Linked DNA regions of Homo sapiens: regions 1, 2, 3, 5, 6 and 7 are each linked to region 4. Evidence: promoter capture Hi-C in 16 types of primary human blood cells and fetal thymus (Javierre and others, 2016). All regions are on one chromosome and are shown on one strand. The core of a region is centred on a gene start or on the middle of the fragment in contact, and the rest is flanking DNA. Distances in the headings are between cores, read along the strand shown. Region 1 overlaps IGSF22 (immunoglobulin superfamily member 22). Region 2 overlaps TPH1 (tryptophan hydroxylase 1). Region 3 overlaps PTPN5 (protein tyrosine phosphatase non-receptor type 5). Region 4 holds the start of LDHA (lactate dehydrogenase A). Region 5 overlaps PTPN5 (protein tyrosine phosphatase non-receptor type 5). Region 6 overlaps SERGEF (secretion regulating guanine nucleotide exchange factor). Region 7 has its middle 30 kb from the start of TPH1.

Region 1 (3,195 bases), core at 41-2,540, 330 kb after region 4:
GGCTGAGCCCCAGAAGGAACAGTGGTGAGTAAGGCTGACTTGATGCCCGTCTGCATGGTGCTTGCAGAAGCCTGCTAGGCTCTCAGAAGCCAAGGCTCTCAGAAAGTGTCTGCTGAATGAATGAGCTTGTGTAAGAGGTGGCCATCAGGGGGACTGGGGCAGCTCGTGTGTGCTGTGGGGGGCTTAGGGTCCAGTGATGATGGGTCTTTGGGAGCAGACTACTTCTGTCTGTGGGGAAAAAAGGAGGCTCTTTGCCTTTCACAACGGGAAATCGGGTCAGGACCCGAGTGATTATAGGATCATAAGTAATTATAGGCCTAGATCTCCCCGTGATCCATCCCTCCCTTTCCTCGAAGGGCCTGGAGCCAGGGGTTACAGCTGGGTAGGCCCAGCTCTCAGAAAGTGATCCAGAAGCTGGTTAGACCTAAGGATGGTCGGTCCTTGGGGAGGGTTCAGCTGAAGAGCCCGGAGCCCCTGACCCTCACCCCTACTCTACGGCGAGTCCCTCCGGCACCTCGCCACCCACAATGGTCCCGCCCTCCATGGCTACGCCCACCGTCTTGGTCCCGCGTTCCTTTTGGCTCACTCGCCTTGTGGACACGCCCCTTCGCTTCCATTGCGTCCCGCCCCGCCACGTTCTGGCTCTGCCCCTGCTCTGCTCTGCCCCGGGGGTACTTTGGGTCCTCTGCTCATTCCGGCAATATCCCGGTTCCTGACTCGGCCTCTCTTATCCTGCCGCGCCTCTCGGGCAATGACAGCTGCTTTTCCCACTGCCCGGCTCTCGGGCCGCCGTTAAGGCTCTCATCGGTGAGAAGACTGGCGGCCCGCCCTGGGGGTCCCTGCCTCTGGCCTTCTCGGTAACTGGACTTGGGCTTGGCCCCCGCACCTTCAGCACGTGTTCCTTGTTAATGCTGTCGTAGAATATCTTGGCGGACTCCTTGATGGGGATGCCGCTCTCCCTCTTCCAGGAGATGTGGGGTTTGGCGTTCCCCTGCACCCGGGCTCGGAACACGGCTTTGTCCCCTGCGATGAGCACAGGACGCGTTTTCGCCTCTTAGCCACCAGGCTAGAGCCTCTGCCACCCTCTGCCGGCTCTCTGCCTCCTCCCAGACACCTGGGCCTGGCCCCGGGCAGGGGAGGAACCCTCGGCCAGGCTCTGCCAGGGTTTAGCATTGGAGGTCGTTGGGGTAGGACGGAGGGTGGGGGCACTCGATTAGAAAGCGAAGCACTGGAGCCCGGTGAGCCACAGGCAGCAACACACCCTCGGGCGCGGTGACCGGTTGAGGCTTCTCCACGAACTCAGGGACGCTGTCGCCCGCAGGGATGTTTGAGCTCCGGGTCACTAAGCTGAAGAACTCCACTATGCTCGAGGACTTCCTCCTCACGACCTCCTCTGTGGGGGCAGGCGAGAGGTCAGAATGGGCTCCAGGTAGAAGCCCAGCTCGCGATGGGAGGACAGAGCTTTCTTGAGAGGACGGTGGAGCATGGGAACAAAGAGCATTTAGGGAAGTGGGAGCAGGACCAGCTACATGGGGAGAAAGCAGGGTGAGTCGATGGGCCATTGTGTTATGGCAAGTTTCAACCACTAGGGGAGGCGAACTCCTTTCCCACACCTCAGTGGTCCATTACCTTTATGGGGCCACAGCCCTGAGTCCTAATTTTTTTTTTTAAAGGAGGCTTCTCTTTTGGAATTTTCTTGGTCTCTTAGGCTTCTCTCCTGGAAGTCCTGGTCCCCCAGTAGCATTAAGAGGGGCTAGGCCTGCTTCTGCCTGGGAGGTCTGCAGCTTGGCTGAGCTCTGCTCTAGATTTTCTCCCTGCCATTCTGTGGGTTCAGCATTCATTGCCTTGGGAGTAGTGATTCTTGAGTGAGGGACAGGACACGACACAGTCCCACTCCAGTGGAGCTATATATGGGAATATCCTTATCTGAAAGCACATCTTCAATGTGGAAATATAATTTTATATTTGGAAAACAAAAAAAACTGTTTTTGCAGTATAAAACTACAGACAATCTTCTTGGCTGGTGAGTTATCAATTCACAACAATTGCTCTGAATCATGGAACACTTTCCTTGAGTCAGGAACTGTGCTAGGCACATATCAGAGATGATTTTATTCCATCTTCACAGCATCCCACTGAAGTAGGTGCCTTTATTATCCCACTAATCTGACAGAGGGGGAAAAGTGTGTTAAGAAGCTCTCATGGCCTGCTTTTAAATACTAACAAGAGGTCTCAAACAGGCAGAGTGCAGTGGACACCTGGCCTGCAGATGTCTTTTATGTGACCTCCACAATGTTTAAACAAAAAAGTAGCCCTACATCTGAAAGAGAAAGATTTCACATAAAAATTCAGATTTCTGGATTCTCAACACTGAACCTGTATTCCCATATGGCAACAGTCAGTGGGAGGTGAATAGTGGCTGCCCCTTTAGATGGGATATACAGTCTCTAGTTTACCCCAGTCTTTTCCCCACATTTATGTTCCCTGCCTGGGCCCTGTTGGTCAGTGGTCTACAGCTTTGGCTGCACATATATAATCCATGGAGAACTTTATAAGAAATACCTGATTGAATGGTCTGGGGTGAGACTCAGGTACTGCCATATTTTTGCCCTCCTCACACCCCCTGCACTAAGGTGACTCTGATGTGCGGCCACAGCAGAGAATCACTGCTGTAAATCACTTGAGTTTGGAACTTCTGGTCTAGACCATAGGCCTTGAGTCCCAGCTGTTCCACTTGCTCTGCCTCACTGGCCAGGAGGTGTTGGTTGGTATAGAGTGTTTATCTGGCCTTGACCTCTGTGCACGGAGGACTTTGAGGGACTCTATCCCTTTGAGGCTTTGAGGGAGGGGCAATGACTGTGAGAAGGGGTATCCAATGTCTTGGCCCCCGGCCATCTTTTAATCTCTTTCCACTAGAGACGTGACTAAAACACTCTGTTCAGCTCTGAGACCATTTCTCAGCTTTCCCTTGGATCTGCCCTCTTCCAAGTCTGGCCCCAGAGGGCTAAAAGCCTGGAAGGTAAGGTCACCTTCTTGTTTATGTGTTCACCTTCTTTCTCCACTGGTAGCCCCAAGTCTCCTATTTCTTAAGTGGAGCAGGGTCAGCATTACTGATATGTAGATAAGGTGGCTACCTTCCTAATTTCCCCTATGCCTGAAATTCTACCTTTGGAGATAGAATCTGTTCACCTATGG
Region 2 (2,975 bases), core at 184-2,683, 380 kb before region 4:
AGAGTGTGTGTGTGTGTGTGTGTGTGTGAGAGAGAGAGAGAGAGAGAGAGAGAGAGAGAGAGAGAGAGAGAGAAATGGAAATTAGGAGCTAAGGACTTTTTATTACCTGTGAGCAAGCAGAAAGTCAGGCAGCAACCTGAGATTTCATCCAGAAGGGCAAGGAAGAACTACCTACAGAGCCAGTTTTAATAGAGAGAAGGTCTGGGAGAATATAGTTGTTTTCTGACTCCACCCCTTGAATGTACAAGCATCAATATTTTAACTAACCTACAGTTATATTATCATGTCATATCCCTTAATACAATTTATTGGAAGTGTTGAGATGTTGCAACTATTTCAACTATGTACTCGCCACTGCCTAGTTCTTCCCATGAGCAGCCTGGCTGAATTGCAGTTCTTGAATGGGACTAGATTTAAACCATCTAATGGCTTCACTTTCAGATGGCTTATCTCCCCAAAAGAGGAAAGTATAAAGTATTTGAGAACATACAGATTGCATCTCTGTACCATGAAGGTTAGGAAATTTTTTCCCGTTGGATTATTTTTTGTGATCATCCCAATAATACTAGTATGATAAGTGCTGTTAGGATTATTATTTTATCTTATTTTGTTTTTTTGAGGCAGGGTCTCCCTCTGTTGCCCAGGCTGGAGTGCAGGTGGCATGATAATGGCTCACTGCAGCCTCTACCTCCTGGGCTCAAGTGATCCTCCTGCCTCAGCCTCCCAAGTAGCTAGGGCTACAGGTGTGAGCCACCTTGCCTGGCCAGGATCATTGTTTTATAGATGAGAAAACTGAGGCTCAAAGTAGTTATTTACTTCAAGGTCAGTTTTCTACTTTTGATAAAGGAAGATTAGCTAGCTGCATACCTATTCTCTCATAAAAAAACAACTAGAAAATTTGACAAAATATTTTTAAAATATATTTCAAGTTATTGGAGAGCTATCAAAGCAGGAAGAACTTGAAGGGCCAAGATCTGGAAGCTGAGAGATTATATTTGGCACTACTTTTCTGCTTGAAGCACTTGCTAATTACTAAGCAATGTCTTGGAGGCTAAGAAACTGGGCTGAAATCAACAACTAAGAAGCTGAGCAGTACCTTTAGCAATCTCATAGGGTAGGGATGGGAGGAGGGAATGGTGGACATGAAGGAGGGGACAAAAGTAGTAGTCCAGAGCCCCCAAGGAGAAGCCCTGGTACACACTCATAGTTTTCTCTTGAGATCCCTAAAGGGCTACACCCTAAAAGTCAAGGTGAACTGGAAATAGACCAGCCCTCACAAAGACTGAAGCTCAACTTCTCTTTGGCTCAATCCCTAATTGGACTCAGACTTTACCATGCCATTATATACTGCCTACTAGAAGCAAAAATTAATACCCTCTTGTGGAAGATAAAATCATCTAGAAGCTAAGGGGGAATATCTGTTAAGAGAGTGATTGTATTAGTAATTCTTTACATGTGGAAAATGAGTTTTTTTTTTTTACAAAGTCCTCTTGCAGCATAACTTCTCCAATAATCTAGTGTAGTAGACTTAGTTCATTTTACAGATGAGGAGTGTAAACCAAAAATAAAATTCTAAGGCCCCCCCCAACCATCTGAATGGACTTTCTTCTAGGCCAGGGCACTCTAAAATGTAACCCGAAACACTGATTCAGGCCATGACTGGAAGTGGGGTCACGCACATGCCTCCTTATACCTCTCCAGCATTAACATCAACACAGACCTTAAGTCTGATAAGAAAAATTGACAGTCTGTTCTCTTGGAAGCCTGCCATCTGGAGGCTTCATCTGCATGATAAAACTCTGGTCTCCACAAACTCATACAGCAACCCAGACATTCCTTTCTATGAATTGCCAATTAGAAAAATTTTAAAACTACCTATAATCTGGAAACCTCCCACCCAACACTTTGAATTATCCCAGCTTTCTGGACTGAGCCAGTGTATCTTATAAATGTATTTGACTGAAGTCTCATGTCTCCCTAAAATGTATAAAACCAAGCTGTACCCTGACTACCTTGGGCACATGTTCTCAGGGTCTCCTAAGGGCTGTGTCATGGGCCATGGTCACTCATATTTGGCTCTTCAAATACTTTACTGTGTTTGACTCTTTTCGTTGACAGGAACATAACACAGACTTTACGAAGAACTCTGAAAAGTGGTTACCAGGTTCCAGATATGTTTGGCTTCTATCTCATATCCATAGGCTTTTTAAGAAGTATAAAGATACAATGGATTTCCTAAACTAATAAAATTGCTAATGTAACTTTAAATAAATTTTTAACGTATGTTTGAAAAAAAGTAAACATTGGTTGAGAACATAAATTTTGTGTTCATTTATTATCCCACTGAATAACAAACTTGTAAATCATAAATATATATTACATAGTAAAACAAAGATTAGACCAAAATAGACCATAGTACCTTAAACACTTCCTATGAATTAACATATGGACTCTATCATATGTTCCTTTAGAGAATTCAGGATTTTTTTCTTTTTTGAATTTGGAAGCCAACTTAAAAGCTAACAATAATTATTTACATTTTGGTGTGTCATTACTACTTGTATAACTCCAAATGACAGAATATGTAGATAAAGAAATGTAGGTATTCTGAAGACCAGCTTTTGAGCATCCTTAAGAAGTCATGAAGATATTAACTATGTCTTTGAATAATGATTTACTGATTAAGAATTATTAACCGGCTGGGCATGGTGGCTCATGCTTGTAATCCCAGCACTTTGGGAGGCCGAGGCGGATGGATCACCTGCGGTCAGAAGTTCGAGACCAGCCTGGCCAACATGGCGAAACCCCATCTCTACTAAAAAAACAAAAATTAGCGGGGCATGGTGAAGCACGCCTGCAGTCCCAGGTTGCAGCGAGCTGAAATCACGCAACTGCGCTCCAGCCTGGGCAACAGAGTGAGACTCTGTCTCAAAAAAAAAAAAAAATTATAAACGAAGCTTTTAGTTCAATTCTGT
Region 3 (3,425 bases), core at 235-2,734, 340 kb after region 4:
GTCACCCCTAGAGGCCCAGCTGAGGGTCCTCCTCAGGGTGAGGGGATCCCCAGGTGAAGCTGAGCCTGCCCCCATCCCTCTGGGACAGTGAGTACTCACTGGGAAGTATGGTTTTGTACCGGTTCTTCCGCACCAGCCCAGGGATGTCGTACTCTTTCGGATCCACAAAGTTCATGGGGATTTCCTGTGGAAGGAGGACACGGGGTGTGAGCAGCTATGGGCCCTCACAGATGTTTGAATCCAGGGGCTGCTGTGCCCCCAACTCCTAGCCCAGGGGCTGGCTTGAGTGCACGCATTCATTCAACAAACATTTACTATTAAGAGAGTTAGTGCTCACGACGCATTCAGAACAGTGCCTGGCACATGCTGAGTGTGTAATAAATATGATAATGACTATTGTTTATGGAGAGCCAGCCTGCCATATATAGACAGTCAATAAATAGCTGATGAATGAAGAAAAAGACAAAAAGTGACCTGGCCAATGGCTGCCTTCTTCCATGCTCCCTGGGCAGCATTCCTCCCTGGGCATCCCTATCTCGGGACCTAGGTTCGTGCTGCTTGCTCTGTGGTAACACACACCCCATCCTCATCTCATGTCCCGCCTCCTCTGAGAAGCCTTCCCTGATTCTCCAGAAGGAGAGAAGCCTCTTTCTGAGATCCCAGGAATATCTGCACCTCCCAACCACTGTCTGTGTCCAGAGCTCTGAGTCTGAACTTCTCTCCTGGCATGTGAGGGCTTCTTGAATCTGGCCTCTCTTTACTTCCAGTTAGGCCTGTTTCTCCCCTGTTGTTAATCTGCTGTTCTCAGTCCTGCCTCTGAGTCTGAGCTTGTGACGTTCTGCCTCCTGAGGGCGCTGGTCTCCCCTACCCCCATCTCTCCAAGTTGTTCCCACCCTTTAAAGTTCACCTCTGCCCGGGCGCGGTGGCTCACGCCTGTAATCTCAGCACTTTGGGAGGCCGAGGCAGGCGGATCACAAAGTCAGGAGTTTGAGACCACCCTGGCCAACATGTTGAAACCCCATCTCTAATAAGAATACAAAAATTAGCTGGACCTGGTGGCGGGCCCCTGTAATCCCAGCCACTAGGGAGGCTGAGGCAGGAGAATCGCTTGGAACTGGAAGGCGGAGGTTGCAGTGAGACAAGATCGCACCACTGCACTCCAGCCTGGGCAACAAGAGTGAAACCCTGTCTCAAAAAAAAAAAAAAAAAAAAAGTTCACCTATGAGTCTGTCTCCTCCTGACATCTTCCGGGATGACTCTCCATGCCTCTTGCCTCTGCATTTCCTTCCAGTCTGTCCACCAGCTTAGCCCCTGACTGCACCTAACTTCACACTGTTCATTGTTTTTGGACACACTAAGTATGGGCTTTGTAAAATGAGGATCATCACACTTTCCAGGATTGTGAAAATCAAAATAAAAATACAACACGTGCAAAACTGCCCCCAGAGTGGGTGCTCAGGCCACGCTCCTTCCTCAACAAAGACCCACCGGACAGGAAATGAGGTAGAGGATGTGATTCTTTCTCGAAGGGGAGATGATGGCAGTGGGAGCTCAGAGAAGGAGCTGAGGCTGGGGTGGTTAAAGAAGGCTTTCTAGAGGCATCTGGAGTGAGTGATGATGTGAGCAAAGGCACAGGAGGAGAAAGGCACGGACGAGACTGGCCCAGTTTGAAGTGGACAGTCCCTGCAGGGGTGGGGCATGGGGCATAAGGCTGGAAAAGGAGGCTGGGGCCACACGAGGTAAGGGGTGCTGATGGTGTATGCAGGTGGTACCAAGTTCTGGAGAACTTGGAGCAGCAGATCAGATGATGATGGAGGTCTTCTCACAGGGGAGAGCTACCCGGTCCAGACAGGCCCAGGGCGGAGGCCAAAGGAAGGGAGCTATGAGGGAGGAGGCACCTGCTTCTGTACCCCTGTGGCTTCTACCAGGAGGAACTCACCCCAGATACTCTTGGCCTCTTGCCTTTTCCTGCTCACAGAAGTGAGGAGTTACCTGTTTGGTGAATTTGGTTGAGGAATGGAGCTTTGGAGCCTCAGCCCCTTCCTTCCTCCTCCTCTCAGGGCCCTCCTGCCAGGAAAGAATTATAGGGGTGCCCCCATGCGGCAAGGTCCGAGATGTGCCGGCACCCCTGTGGAGGGTGGAAAGTGCATGTAATTCTGGGTCTCAGTATCGGGAGGCTCACTCTTGCTGTACCCTGCTAAGCCACATTTCCAACCTGTATTTTATTGACAACAAAGGTGATATTGTAATCTCCTATGCCTTAGCTCTTAACTGGCTGAGCACTCAGGCAGGTAAACAGGGGTGCCATTTATTGAGCCCCTCAAAGTCCAATAGGAGGCAGCTGGAGGCTGCTGCAGAAGCCAGGGTGGAGGTGATTAGGACCTAAGCTAGGGCCCCAGGGGTGGTAACGAGGGGAGGCCACTAGAGAGATTTCAAAGGCAGAAGAACAATGCTCGGCAGGAGGAAAGTGGGAAAACAGAAGAGTTAGAAGTGAAGGTTCTCTGTGGCTTTCAGAGCACAGCACTGGGCAATAAAGACTTAGCATTGTCACTGTACCTCCATCACCTGGCTGGGTGCTCTGCACATGTTATAAGTCTCTTTAATCTTTGCAACAATTCTATTATTTTCATCCCCATTTTCCAGATGAGGAAACTGAAGCTCAGAGGGAAAGCAGCTTGCCCAAGATGGTGGGAGAGCTGATAATAAAGTGATACTAATCTACTGCAGATGCTGAGTTCCAGGCACCACGCTCCACCACCTGGGCAGGTGGATGATTGACATGGGTCTGCACACAGTGGGGCGACCGGCTCAAGGGAACTCACAAAGAATTCCGCCTGCAGCAGGAAAGGGTCCAGGGCCTTTTCATGAAGCTCTTCTGCTTGGAGGACACGGGAGGCGCTGAGCAGGTACTCGCGGGCGGACTCCTCACGTGGGGACATGAGATAGCCAAAGCCCTCCTCGTTGCAGCCCGGAGTGCACATGTCCAGGGTCAGGGAGACATTGGAACCCCTCCTGGAAGGACCAGGAAAGGGAGTGTGAGCCTCAGGGGCAGAGGGACGGGCATGAGCTGGGGTCTCCAGGGCTGGGAAAATGAGGGAGGGAGAGATCAGCTGGGAACAGGGTGGGGTTGAGGAAGAGGAGTGGGAGTGTGACAAGACCCCCTGACAAAGAAGCGTGAATCTCAGCCCTGAGGCATTGGCCTGACTCCCTATCTCCTGCCTCCTGCAGTGGAGATGTTAACTTAGTGGGGATTTGGGGCTCCAGTTCTAAAAGTTCCATCCAAAGCTACCCCAACATGGCCTTACCCTGGACTCTCCTCCATCACCGTTGGAGGAAGTTCTACCCTGTGGTCCCCAGGAAGCTCAGAGAGGGGACACCTGCCTGAAGCACAGAAGCGGGGCTTGGGCCCGAGAGGATGGCTCCAG
Region 4 (3,335 bases), core at 212-2,711:
AGCCCTCTAATTCCCTAATCATTTGGTCTTTCCCATGACTGGCTCCTTCCTGAGGCTATCTAAGACTCCTCATTCATTAACATTAAGTCAGGGAAAAAGGCTCTTTATAAATAACAAAAGACATTCCTATCAGAAAATTCAGGAAATTTTGGCATACTCAAGGGCTTACCAAATATATTTCATAATATACCCCACAGTGGGGAAGTATTGGTACAAATTAAAGAAGAGATGGAGGAGGGCGGGCTAGGCAATGGAATCAGCAAGAATACAGGCCCAGAGGTAAGTATGATAAGAAAACAAAAAATTGAGCTGGGCACGGTGGCTCACGCCTGTAATCCCAGCTCTTTGTGAGGCCGAGGCGGCCAGATCACTTGAGGCCAGGAGTTTGAGATCAGCCTGACCAACATGGTGAAACCCCGTCTCTACTAAAAATTACAAAAATTAGCCGGGCGTGGTGGCGCCTGGCTGTAATCCCATCTTCTCAGGAGGCTGAGGCAGGAGATTCGCTTGAACCCGGGAGGCGGAGGTTGCAGTGAGCCGAGATCAGCCCACTGCACTCCAGCCTGGGCGACAGAGCGACTCCGTTTCAAAAAAAAAAAAATTAATAATTAAAAAAAAAATCGCAGGGCAAGTGGGCGCGCTTGTAGTCCCAGTCACTTCGGGGAGCCGAGGTGGGAGGATCGCTTGAGCCAGAAGGTCGAGGCTGCAGGAAGCCATGATCACGCCACTGCCCTCCAGCCTGGGTGACAGAGTGAGACCCTGTCTCGAAAAATACCAAAAAACAAATAAACAAACAAAAAACCAAAACCAAAAAAACAAGCCACTGACAGTTCTTGGGTATGGTTGAGACTCGAGATGAGATGCCAGTGGGGTGGGCAGTAGAAAGTGCAGAATAAAATGTACATTTGAACTGAGTCACCCTGCAAGGCCTGAGAGGCCAAGGCTTCACTGTGAGTGGGAGCTGGTAGGCTTAGCAGCAGAGGGAAAAGCAGCGTCGAGTTTTGGAGGTCACTCGACTTAGGTAAGAACAGACTGACTGACTGCTAGGCATTTTCTTCCTTTCGTTCAACAAATATTTGTGGAGTGCCTATTACGTGCCAGAAGCTGTTCTGGACACTGAGAAACAGGGATGAAGAAGAAACAGATCCAAGCCTTCCTGAGAGTAACCTCCCCAGGTTTCATGGATGAGGAAACTGAAGGTCGTCCTGACTCAGGCTCATGGCTCCGACCCCGGCTTCTGTGGTTGGAGGGCAGCACCTTACTTAGACTCCCAGCGCACGTGGAGCAGTCTGCCGGTCGGTTGTCTGGCTGCGCGCGCCACCCGGGCCTCTCCAGTGCCCCGCCTGGCTCGGCATCCACCCCCAGCCCGACTCACACGTGGGTTCCCGCACGTCCGCCGGCCCCCCCCGCTGACGTCAGCATAGCTGTTCCACTTAAGGCCCCTCCCGCGCCCAGCTCAGAGTGCTGCAGCCGCTGCCGCCGATTCCGGATCTCATTGCCACGCGCCCCCGACGACCGCCCGACGTGCATTCCCGGTACGGTAGGGCCCTGCGCGCACGGCGCCAGAGGGATGGGCGGGTAGAGCCAACTGCCTCTGGTTCTGCTGGCCTCCGCTGCTCGCGAAGGGATTCCTGCTCCCGGGAGGTGTAGGAGCCGCTTTCCAGAAGCACAGCCCAGAGACGTCTGGGCGGCGGCCCACACAACGCATGTGTTCGGAGCTCGCCGCGCTCTGCTTTTGCTCTAAGCGGGAACCATGGCTTCTGGCCACGCTGGGGAACCGAGGAGGTGGCCGCACCCAAGCAGGGGTCGAAAGCCCGGGTGGATGCGGAACAAGGATATGATAGGCCTTAAGGGTGGGGGATACCTCTGGGCTCGAAATCGGCGGGCGGTGCAAAACTCGAGGTCCAGTTCTCGGAGCCCATAGAGCCAAAAAAGCCTCAGCTTGTCCGGGGCGGGTTCTTGAAAGACGGAAAGCGGCTGAGTACCACGCGGCTTGCATTTTTCTCTTGGGACGCTCGAGAGGTGGGCTCCGTGAGGGCAGCTGCTGCCTGCAGATTATAGGGAGCCCTTTGCGCATTTATTAAGAAGCTACTGGTGTATCTCGGGCTGCGCTAGGCACGGCGCATGCAAAGATGAAGCAGGCAGCATCCCAGCCCTTCCGCACCTCAGACGGTCAGTTGAGTAGGATCCGCCGGTACCAACTCCTCCTTTTAACAAATAGGGAGACCGAAAGCTAGGAGACAGTCAGGGATCTCTAAGTTCCCAGTGAGTAGGAGGCAGAGGTGAGGTGTAGAACTCGTTTTTGCATGTCTCTCGCCTCTAGACGCACCCTTCCCTCATCCCATGCCCTCCCACCTCCGCCCCTACATTAAAGGTAGCATTGGATCCCGGGGCCGTTCAGTGAAGCTAGCAGGTGTCCGCAGGAACTCCCTTCCCCCTGCCAGGCTAGAAACCTTACAAGGCTGTCTAGAAATAGCAGTGATTTGTAAGGAGAGACCCGGCTCCAGCTTGGTGACTCTGGGCTGACTGCCTGCCTAGAGGTCCTCTCGGATTTTTGCCCTTTGGAGTGGTGTCAAAACTAGACGTGATACTTTGGGGATGCAGCCTGTGATATTTCCTCCAGCGAATGCAGTGCAGGGTTGGATTAACAAGGTGGAAAGAATTCGAGGGTTCCACCAAGTAGCTATTAACTCTAGGGCTGCAGGCCTCAGGCCTTCTGCAGCTATTTCTACACTCCCTGTACTGAAACTATTTCTTCATACTGGGCCTGACAGGCCTTTGCAACAAGGATCACGGCCGAAGCCACACCGTGCGCCTCCCTCCCGGTTGGTTAACAGGCCCTGGTTTCTAGTATTGCGATTTAAAGTCTGGCGCTGGCTGCGCGCCAGACCTGGGAGGCTGCCAGCTAGGCTTCACGTTGCTGGCGTCTGCTTCGGGGCATTCATTAGGTCTGAAGTCTGAATCCCAGCTCCCTCCCTCTCACCCACTGAGCTGCATAGCTCCAGATTGCCTCTGCTTACGGGCGGGGCTTCTCAGCCTTCTGCCTTCTGGCCCGATGCCCGCTTCCCAACGGCCGGAGGCCGCTAGACTAATCGGCTTCGCCCTGCGCGCTGTAATGCGCATGCGCACGCGCACAAGTTCCTGGGCCCGCCCATCTTCCGGACTTGGGCGGGGCGTAAAAGCCGGGCGTTCGGAGGACCCAGCAATTAGTCTGATTTCCGCCCACCTTTCCGAGCGGGAAGGAGAGCCACAAAGCGCGCATGCGCGCGGATCACCGCAGGCTCCTGTGCCTTGGGCTTGAGCTTTGTGGCAGTTAATGGCTTTTCTGCACGTAT
Region 5 (3,301 bases), core at 100-2,599, 370 kb after region 4:
CCCTTCCGCAAGACAGCCATTCAGATATTCAGGAAGTTCTCACATCTTTTCAGAGAATTCTCTTCTAGACAGACGGTCCCATCTTAGACCGTCTCAACAGGCTGTCCCAAGTGTTTTGAGCAATGGCACCCCCTACTGGTTAAGGTATGAACTGCATCAAAGGGCTTCCTCAGGAGCTGGGGCACTGAGTGTGGTGTGAATAAAATACCACTTATTTTGAAGAGTCATCGCTTTAGACTCATACCTGGTTGTTTCCAATGTCTATCTTAAAGAGTATCACGTGAAGACTCCATTCTAAGGTTCCTTGCCAATCATGAGGTCTCTGAAAAGCTACAGGTTTGGAATTTCAACGTTAGAGTTCAAAAGACTTGTCTTTGTTTTGTTTTGTTTTGTTTTGTTTTTTTGGAGACGGAGTCTTACTCTGTCGCCCAGGCTGGAGTGCAGTGGCGCGATCTCGGCTCACTGCAAGCTCTGCCCTCTGGGTTCACGCCATCCTCCTGCCTCAGCCTCCCAAGTAGCTGGGACTACAGGCGCCCGCCACCACGCCTGGCTAATTTTTTGTATTTTTAGTAGAGACGGAGTTTCACCATGTTAGCCAGGATGGTCTCGATCTCCTGACCTCGTGATCTGCCCGCCTTGGCCTCCCAAAGTGCTGGGATTACAGGCATGAGCCACCGCACCTGGCCCAAAAGACTTGTCTTCTAACAAAATGTTCAGAAGGAGAGATATGAAAATATATGCTATGTTACAGGATTATGGCGATTTTTCTTTTTTTATTTGTATTTATTTTCTAATATTTTGACAGTTAACCTTTTGTTATAAGAAGGAAAAGAACAATAAAAACTTATAAAAAAATGTAAAACTCTCCCCCCACCCCTTCTTTTTCTTCCTTCTGAGGCTGTTTATCATGGCGTGGGTCATGGGGCTACAACTGGGACGAGCTGCCACCCTGTGGGCAAGAGTGCCTTGGTAATATCTCCACGGTGGCTGCAATGGCTTGGCTCCCTGCAACTGTGGTCAACTGGACTCAAGCAGCACAGTTTCACCCTCAAGCCGGGCTTCTCAACAGGGAGGTCAGGTAGTTCTCCACATCCCCCACCCCATCCTTGGCTCATGCTGCCTTCAGGTTTTGCTTCCTACCCTTACCTCTTGAAGTCAGCCCAGCCCTGAATGGTCAGTGGTCATTCCCTAGGAGCCCTGTACTCCTCAGCTCTTCGTCCTTCTTTTCACTTCCTAGCACACCTTCAATTGCCTGCTCTTCCCTCCATGTGAGCCTAGAGCAGCTCCAAGTGATAACAGGTCAGAAGGCATCAGGGATTAGAAAAACAAGTCCCCATTTAAACGAAGAGCTATGGAGCAGCTGCATGGATATTCTTGCGCAAGTTCACAGCTAGCTAGGCTTTACTCCAGCCCCAGCTTCAGCCGGGGCATTGTCTCTCCATTCTGAGGTCTGGGAGGAGCTGGGTGCTGAGAAGACTCACCCGGTAGCCTCTCACTGCAGCACATGTCCAGGGCCCCTCCCTCGGAGTCATCAGCAGCGTGGTTCTCTCTCTCACTCCTGCAGCAGGATGGAAAAGGTAAGAATATGCTGTTGAGCCAGGATCAAGACAAAAACCCTGAGCAAAGATAAGAAGGCTCCCTCTCCTGTATTCTGTATCCCTTTGAATAACCCCACCCCATCAAAGGGACCTGAGGAAAATACCAGCCTGTTGAGGGGTCAAGCTGCAGAGGCAGGAGCAGAATTTTGCAGGTGTCTTCCTTGTGGAATCAGTGGCAGCAGTATCATCACAACCATCATCATCATCATCACCATCATCATCACCTCTACAGTAGGAGGATTTACTATACGCAAGCACTTTGCAAACTTTATCACATTAAATCCTCACCATGACCTCATGAATGAGGGATCATTAAACAGGCTCAGAGAGGTTAAGTAACTTGCCCAAGGTCACACAGCTCAATAGAATAGAGATGAGTTTGAAATTATGACCTAGGACTCCAGGCTCATGCTCTCGCTGTTGTGCCATTCTGTCTCCTAGTTCCAGTAGTTTTGAACCATGGGTGGACAAGAAGAGGGCTCTGAGTAACCCACAATCCTGTGTCCAGCTCTCCAAGATATGCAAGTCCCCTCTGCCCCAGGCAGTGAAAAGTGGTATGCAGAACTCTTCTCCAGAATAGCTAGAAAAAGTAGTTACATACATGTTTTGTATAGTCTAAATGTTTCCTTCCTGAAATCAGAGAACCCTCTTTCTAGCCTATTAGGGCACCTTATAGGAGAGTATGGGGGTCTAGTTTTTCTCCTTTACCTGGCAAGCTGGAAAAATGTTGCTGGAGATCAGCTAGACCCCATGAAGCATCTTGAGAGTAGACATATCTTGAGGGCAACCACTTGACTCACAGGGGGTCCCCTACCCTGGGAATGGCCTGAAATGCAGCGTGGGCTCCAGTGGCCTTGTCTGCCTTTCATGTCTCTGACCCTTGGCAGTAGCTGATGACTGATCCAAGGCTGAACACACAAACCAGCCTGGGTCAATCAGATCCTCTCCCTTGCACACTGAAAATGCATTCTGATGCATTTTGCTGGTGCTGAATCATGGTAGCCACAGTGCCCTGGAGAGAAGACCTGCTGCTGAGGGCCTGAGAGCTGCCTTGTTCCCATCTGTACTGAGTCTTGGACAATATGCCCTTCAAGACCATAAGATGGCCGTGGATCCTTCCAATAAATCCCCACATTTTAGCTTACGCCAGTGGGATGTGATTTCTGAAACTGGCAACCAAAAGAACCTTTGACATAGCCTTGCTAGCATACTTTCAGGAATTCCAGAGGCTCAGCTGCTTCTCTGCCCCCAAGTCCTGCTATCCTGCTTCTTGGACTGGCCCTAGGGCCAGTTTCAGGCCCAATTCCAGATTTTAAATAATTAAGGGCAGAGAGGTCAGGTTCAGGGTGGCCCTTCTCCCTCTGATATCTTCTTTTTCAACTGGCATTATATCATTTTATTTTTTTCCTCAACCCAATTGCCAGGGTCTCTGAGAATCACAAGTCCTAGAGCCCAGCACTCCTGCAGAGAGGAGGTCACTTCCTTCAAGGTAACTTTAAGTGCATTCTTTAAATGTCTCTGGAGTCCCTCCACATTTCTCCCTCCCCATCTTGGTCCCAGCCACCATCATCTCTTGCCTAGATTGCTGTGGCAATATTTTAACTGGTTGCTGGCATCCACTCGGGCTGGCCTCCAAAACATTCTCCACATGGCTCCAGTGCTTATGGCACAGAAAATCTGTGCAGTTTACAAACTGCACAACT
Region 6 (3,118 bases), core at 519-3,018, 410 kb before region 4:
TATGTCTTTTCTCCTCCATTTCCCCAAGGCTTAACACATTGCTCAATAGGTGCCTAATAAACATTAACCTATTTGGTTGGACACCAGAATCCAAAGAGACAAAGAAGCTTTCTGTTCATGAACATCTAAGTCCCAGGAAAGAGGTCAGAAATCCTAGCTATCTACCCTGCCTTGTATGCATTTGTGTATGTGTAGTCTCTTTTAACTATAAAGAGTTTGATGCAGGAAAATGAGTAAATTCTTTGATAGGCATTGGAGATACAGAAGTGAGCAAGACTAATCTGGTGGCTTCCTTCACAGAGCTCATTATCTGAAACAAAAGAGAGATATCAACAATTACAAACATACAAAACCCAGCTACTATGCTCAGTGAGTCTCTTTAGGAAAAGGTTCTGTAGATAAGCCCAATCTTCAAGCAATCTGAATCTCTTTGAGGAAAGTGACGACCTTCCTCCTAATGAATGACACACTTTGCTTAGAGCATCCTCTAAAGCGGTAATATGGAAAGTTTATTATACACCTTTGTTATACAGGCCTCTATTGCAAAATGATCATGAAATGTTTTAAAAGACCAATTAAAAGCATCATAGGTATGACTGCTCATAAGTCTACATTTGTGTATAGAAATGCGTAGTATATGTGACTTACCAAGGATAGCTGAAGCTGACCTGAAAACCTGCAAAAGCCAGAAACTTCTGAAATAAGAGTCACTAGATATTTGGGAGTCTAGAGATGTGTGTGTAGCTAGCAAGCAGGACAGGAGTAGGCAAGGGAACTCCTGAGAACCCCTGAAGCTCAGAATACTTTGACATGATAACAGATCTTGGGAATTTCAAATTGGCTGGGGAACTCTGTGAAATCAACAGGCAGGAAGGCAGGGATGAATAGAGGCCATGAAAAAACAAAATCTGAGGACAAAGTTAACAATATGAAGGCCAGGAAAGTAGAACTGCCCTAAGGGAAAGATGAGAAATAAACGAAGATTCAAGAAAAGATGAAGATGCCAAAAGCTGTATGGCATGATGTGGTAACATCTGAGGGAATATATGAGATGTCTGAACCAATACACATAGTTTATTAGGTCAACAAAAGTTTAAATCAGAATTCCATGCCAGCTATGAATCAAAATAATGTTCCTACCTCAATCTTTAGATATTTATCTTTCACTTAACATTTTCTGATGCTTTTAATTTAGACTTAGACATGCAAATAGCTATGACAAAGTAAGAACTTCCCAACAAGCTGGACAAATTTCTGGATGACGCTTGCTGCAATGGATCCCTTCTCAAAACCTCATGGGCTCTTAGGACCGGAAGGAGTTAACTTAACCCAGGCTTGCCCTTTTGGGTACAAACCTGTGACTCTGAGAGGAAAAGCCACATATCTGGCTGGTGGCAGAACTAGATCCCAGTATCCCCATCTCTGATCTTTAAGCTTTCATCAGTAAAAAGGCTTAACCCCAAGCACTCATGGCTGCTTAGACAGCTGTCCCCCAGCTGCTCTTACCAACCGTAAGTTCTCTGCTACTGTCTCACCTGTCTGAGCAACCAGGTGTGTCCATCCACTCCAGATGGCAGTGACCTTTTCATTCTGGAAACAATGTGCTTCTATTTTCTGGGGCACAGGAAGGAAAGCAGCCTCATTAGCCAGTTGCCCATGCTTGTTGCTTCCCCAAACATACACCTCTCCTGCATCTTAAACAAACAGAAGGGTAACAAAAGAGGTGAGGGAACATTAGTCCAAAATGATGGAAAATAACAGAAGTCTAAAAAATAAGTGGTTAAAAGAAGTTGTTTTATACTTAGACTACAAGGTTGAGTGGAGCCAAGCAGGTTACAAAATTTGTGTACACCATAATAACTTATTACAAGATTTTCAAAAATTCTATACATAAAAAACAAGGCCAAATGTTCTTAGTAGCTTAAGAAATAAAAATGTGTGGTTTTCTCTTCACTTTTTCATTCAACAAATATTTATGCAACATCTACCATGTGTATGAGACACATTTCTCTATTTTCTACGTTTTTAAAATATATGCCTATACCTTTTGTATGAAAAAAATGCTTTAAATTTTCAAAATAACAGGTTAAAAGATACATTATTTAAGCTTAAATTTTTTAAACATAAGATTATTTCACTGCATGCCCTGTCCAGCAGAAAATATAATGCTATAGAATCGCATCTGGATAGCACTTCAGTTTGTTTTAACCTCACAATAATCCTGTGATATAAGCAGGAAAGTGACTGACTGACATTGTGATTTAACAGAAAGAGAACAAATTCAGAGTCAAGTGACTCTGGCTTCTATTCCTGGATCTGCTAACTAGCTATTGACCTTGGACAAATCACTTCCTCTCTAAGACTTAGTTTCACCAGCTGAAAATTGGAAGGGAAGGCTGTTGGTCTAGAAGGGCAGACAATATGACTGATGACACTGGTAACAAGAATGACTGGCAGGTGACTGTGGCAAGCCAGAGAGTACGTGCCTATCTAAAAGGCATTCACATTCAAAAATATTTTGTAAATGAAAGCCATACAAAATGAGGCCATGGGCAATAATTTAGCCTATGGCTTGTCAATTTGTGACTCCTCAGCTTTTCCAACCCTTATAATCTAAGGATCTACAGCTGTACTACCCAATACAGTAGTTCACCACCTACATGTGGCTATTAAACACTTGAAATGTGGCTAGCCCAAACTGAGATACATTGTAAGTGAAATGCTACTCTCTCACACAATGGACTGCAAAGACTTAGTGCAAAAAAGAGTGTGGCTCCTTATAATTTGATATGGGTTACATGTTGAAATAATATTTTGGATATACTGGGTTAAGTAGATATATTATTAAAATTAATCCCACCTGTTTCTTTTTACTTTTTGAACTATGGCTCATATTATATTTCTATTAGCACTGTTCTAGAAGATAAATTAATCAAGGCTGGAAGATATTAAATTACTTTTCAGGATCACATGGCTAATAAGGAGTCAAATAGGGACTAGAAGCCAGGTCTTCTGCTTTCACTGCATTTTGTAGCTTCCCAATAAAACTTGATAGTATTGCTTGCCCTAGGGCAGTCTAGTATATTCCAAAAAACTGACAGAAAGTCAAACAGTATCA
Region 7 (3,420 bases), core at 545-3,044, 320 kb before region 4:
AATGGCTACCCAGGGCATGCTCTTCTCACGGTAAATGACAGGAGCACAAGCAAACTGCTAAAAGTACTCTGCTTACATCAGCTCCATTAACATTCTATTGGCCAAAGCAAGTGACTTGGTCAAGCTCAAAGTCAAGGGACAGGGAAGTACACTCCATTCACGGAGAAGCCATGGCAAGGGCACGATACACAGAGGTGAAGAATCGAGAATAATGATCCAGTCTGCTACAGGATGCATGACCTCTATGCAGACCAGCTTCTTCCTCTGTTCTTCTTACACATGACTCTGGAATTCCAGGCCCACTAGGTCAAGATTTTTTCTGCTTTGTCCACAGTATTTCTATTACACAGATTTTGTCTGTTTTGTTTACTGCTGTCTTCCTAGTCCTTAGAATACCTGGTACATAGTGGATGATAAATATGACTGGCTGCCTCCTCCCAAATAGTGCCCTCAGCCTTGTAAGTTACGTGGTCTAGAGTCCTGTGTCCTTGAGCCAACCTGAGTTGTCCAGCTTGGGTTAGGAGTAATTCCCTTATTAAACCATACGCTGTAACCGGGGGAAGAATGTGGGCAGTCCAGCGGCAATTTTGGAGAAAGGAACGTGGATGTGCAGATAGCCTAGCTGTCTCTTCCATGTGATCTATCAAGACCTTCATGCTCCAGTCCATGCCTCCCCACAGTATGCAAGTACAGTATAGTGGCTAAAAGAATATTCATTAGGCTAGGCAGGTCCAGATCCAAGCCCTGGGTCAGCTACTTACTACCTAAATAACTTTCAGCAAGTTATTTTACCACTCTGAATCTTCATTTCTCCATCTATAAAATGGTGACAATTACCTTATGGGATTATTGCAAAATTAAATAATATACCTAAAGACCTTTACAGAGCATCTGACACATAGTAAATCCTCAATAAATGGCGGTCATCTCTAACAGGAAATTAAGTCTGGTGTCTACCACATCCTTCTGTGTCCTGAGGTAAATTTCGTATCACACTCATTTTAATTTCAACTTTAGTTGATTGTGTTGGGTCACACACTTAGCCCAAAGTAGCCAAATCACAGGTGACTCACACTGCTTGATACAAAAAGACTAGTAACTGCGCAAGAATTTCTCTCTCACAAATTTAAAGAAATACCAAGAGAATAAAGTGATTAAGCTGGCAGAACACAACCCCCCAAAAAAGACAGGCTGGTGTGGTCTTGAGAGACCACAGACAAGCTGAAGTCCTAAGAAAGAAGAAACGGAAATAAGGAAGCCAGGTGACACAGGGACTCAGAGCAGACCCTGATGCCACCTCCTTGGGTACAGATCCTCTCCCCTCCAGGTCTAATTTCAGTGTGGCATGACCCTCTCCCAGAATTGTGATCCTTGCCAGAGCCCTGAGGCATGAACAATTAGGATAAAATGAGAATGCCCTACTCCATGATGTTACTACACTATAGAATCTTGCAAACGTCCAGGGAAAACACAGTTGTTCAGAAAGGGCAATCACATGGGCACAATCATAATGATAGAAGGAGTAGCCTGATATTACGAAATCCTTGGCTGTGAAATGTGAACTTATGGAGGTTTTCTGGCTTTTATATTACAGATGTTCCTTGGGTTGTATAAAATTGGATTTAAGCAAATGTGACCTCATGCAAATTATCTAAGATACATCATAAAAGCTTAGCGATGCAGATTTTGCATTCTATATAGAAATACAAAGCAGTCAGGTTGATGAACAAATAGTATGAGAGGTGAGTGGAGGGCTAGCAGCACCACCACAAGGTTCCCTCCTGCTTCCAGTCTCACCTGTGGTTTTTTTTTTGGTTGCTGGACTGGCCCACAAGACTCAAGACTACATTGGCCCAGGCTCTTGTAAGTTTGACTAGCCCAATGACATAAAAGGAATAAGCATCATTCATAATCAAATTAAAGCTTAAGTTGTGTATCATTTATTTGCTTTTATAAACCTTTAACAGGAAGGCCAGGTGTGGTGACCTGCAAGCCCAGCACTTTGGGAGGCTGAGGCAGGATTGTTTGCAGCCAGGAGTTCAAGACAAGCCTGGGAAACAGTGAGAACCCATCTCTACAAAATCAATAAATAGGCCAGGTGTGGTGGCTCACGCCTGTAATCCCAGCCCACTGAGAGGCCAAGACAGGCGGATCACCTGAGGTCAGGAGTTTCAGACCAGCCTGGCCAATATGGTAAAACCCTGTCTACTAAAAATATAAAAATTAGCTAGGCTAGGCATGGTGGCTCACGCCTGTAATCCTAGCACTTTGGGAGGCAGAGGTGGGCGGATCACAAGGTCAGGAGTTTGAGACAAGTTTGACCAACATGGTGAAACCACGTTTCTACTAAAAATACAGAAATCAGCCGGGCATGGTGGCATGCGCTTGTAATCCCAGCTACTCAGGAAGCTGAGGCAGGAGAATCGCTTGAACCCGGGAGGTGAAGGTTGCAGTGAGCCGCGATTGCGCCACTGCACTCCAGCCTAGGTGACAGAGCAAGACTCCGTCTCAAAAAAAAAAAAAAAAAAGAAAGAAAGAAAGAAAGAAAGAAAACCCACAAAATTAGCCAGGTGTGGTGGTGCGTGCCTGTAATCCCAGCTACTCAGGAGGCTGAAGCAGGAGAATCGCTTGAACCTGGGAGGCGGAGGTTGCAGTGAGCCAGGATCACACCACTGCAATCCAGCCTGGGCAACAGAGTGAGACTCTGTCTCAAAATAAAATAAAAATGAATAAATAAATAAAAATTAGCTGGGCATGGTGGCATGCACCCATAGTCCCAGCTATTTGGGAGACTGAGATAGAAGGATGGCTTTAGCCCAGGAGTTTGAGGCTGCAGTAACCTATGAGTGTGCCACTACACTCTGGCCTGGGCAACAGAGCAAGACCTTGTCTCTGAAAAAAAAAAAAAAAAAAGTATAATGGAACCCCATGTAATTGTCACCCAGCTTCAGCAACTCCAATTCGCAGCCAGTCTTGTTTCATCTACTCCATTAACTTACTTCTTTCCCTCTGCCCCAGACTAATTTGAAGCAAATCCAAGACATCATACTATTTCACTATAAATATATAACTTTTAATAATGGTTCTTGGATCTCAAACCAGCAACAAAAAGAAAACATATTCTATTCAGGATGCTGAGGCAGGAGGATTGCTTCAGCTCAGGAGTTTGAAACCAGTCTTAGCAAGAATATAGTGAGATCCGTATCTCCAAAAAAAAAAAAAAAAAAATAGGAAAGAAAAATATGGTATGGTTAAGAGGGGCATTTGCCTATTTTCCCTTTCTTAAAACTTCTGACAGGAGCATGGAGGAAACTGAAGTTCCAAAGTGGTAAAAGAGAACACATGCTCAAGTAGAATAAATAATTCAGTCCTAAATTAATATGGACCTATTTCTTCTTTTTTAAAAAGGCTATTGATTAG

What was found. Contacts are between HindIII fragments. The CHiCAGO score rates a contact against its expected background, and 5 or more counts as called.
Region 1: a contact is called between a fragment that was not itself captured here and the fragment with the promoter of LDHA in region 4, in 10 of 17 cell types (non-activated CD4 T cells, activated CD4 T cells, total CD8 T cells and 7 more). The highest score is 10.2, in non-activated CD4 T cells.
Region 2: a contact is called between a fragment that was not itself captured here and the fragment with the promoter of LDHA in region 4, in 1 of 17 cell types (non-activated CD4 T cells). The highest score is 5.0, in non-activated CD4 T cells.
Region 3: a fragment that was not itself captured here is called in contact with the fragment with the promoter of LDHA in region 4 in 1 of 17 cell types (activated CD4 T cells); the score reaches 5.6 in activated CD4 T cells.
Region 5: a fragment that was not itself captured here is called in contact with the fragment with the promoter of LDHA in region 4 in 1 of 17 cell types (naive CD4 T cells); the score reaches 6.3 in naive CD4 T cells.
Region 6: a contact is called between a fragment that was not itself captured here and the fragment with the promoter of LDHA in region 4, in 1 of 17 cell types (naive B cells). The highest score is 5.5, in naive B cells.
Region 7: a contact is called between a fragment that was not itself captured here and the fragment with the promoter of LDHA in region 4, in 1 of 17 cell types (naive B cells). The highest score is 6.0, in naive B cells.

What each region holds. Positions count from the first base shown.
Region 1 is chr11:18,720,649-18,723,843 of GRCh38, forward strand. It overlaps IGSF22 (immunoglobulin superfamily member 22), which reads right to left. Exons shown (of 23, transcript NM_173588.4): 3 at 1,262-1,393; 4 at 887-1,023. The region is part of intron 2 of IGSF22-AS1 (IGSF22 antisense RNA 1); the gene reads left to right. Among named protein-coding and RNA genes, the nearest start is that of IGSF22, 3.9 kb to the right of the region's middle. RefSeq lists an enhancer at 983-1,172. The HindIII fragment of the contact is 4,044 bases long and covers 1-3,195 here.
Region 2 is chr11:18,015,248-18,018,222 of GRCh38, forward strand. TPH1 (tryptophan hydroxylase 1) reads right to left here. Exons shown (of 11, transcript NM_004179.3): 11 at 2,308-2,975. Among named protein-coding and RNA genes, the nearest start is that of SERGEF, 3.7 kb to the left of the region's middle. The HindIII fragment of the contact is 3,043 bases long and covers 1-2,955 here.
Region 3 is chr11:18,737,781-18,741,205 of GRCh38, forward strand. It overlaps PTPN5 (protein tyrosine phosphatase non-receptor type 5), which reads right to left. Exons shown (of 15, transcript NM_006906.2): 8 at 2,823-3,012; 9 at 100-184. It overlaps IGSF22-AS1 (IGSF22 antisense RNA 1), which reads left to right. Exons shown (of 3, transcript NR_186353.1): 3 at 2,644-3,425. Among named protein-coding and RNA genes, the nearest start is that of IGSF22, 13 kb to the left of the region's middle. The HindIII fragment of the contact is 8,092 bases long and covers 1-3,425 here.
Region 4 is chr11:18,393,102-18,396,436 of GRCh38, forward strand. LDHA (lactate dehydrogenase A) reads left to right here and starts at 1,462. Exons shown (of 8, transcript NM_005566.4): 1 at 1,462-1,535. RefSeq lists enhancers at 757-1,421, 1,068-1,157, 1,422-2,087, 1,468-1,557, 2,822-3,323 and a silencer at 2,318-2,367. The HindIII fragment of the contact is 13,104 bases long and covers 1-3,335 here.
Region 5 is chr11:18,764,326-18,767,626 of GRCh38, forward strand. It overlaps PTPN5 (protein tyrosine phosphatase non-receptor type 5), which reads right to left. Exons shown (of 15, transcript NM_006906.2): 3 at 1,482-1,558. Among named protein-coding and RNA genes, the nearest start is that of PTPN5, 26 kb to the right of the region's middle. The HindIII fragment of the contact is 5,910 bases long and covers 1-3,301 here.
Region 6 is chr11:17,987,062-17,990,179 of GRCh38, forward strand. It overlaps SERGEF (secretion regulating guanine nucleotide exchange factor), which reads right to left. Exons shown (of 11, transcript NM_012139.4): 8 at 1,536-1,694. Among named protein-coding and RNA genes, the nearest start is that of SERGEF, 24 kb to the right of the region's middle. The HindIII fragment of the contact is 673 bases long and covers 1,433-2,105 here.
Region 7 is chr11:18,074,107-18,077,526 of GRCh38, forward strand. No RefSeq gene overlaps it. Among named protein-coding and RNA genes, the nearest start is that of TPH1, 30 kb to the left of the region's middle. The HindIII fragment of the contact is 253 bases long and covers 1,669-1,921 here.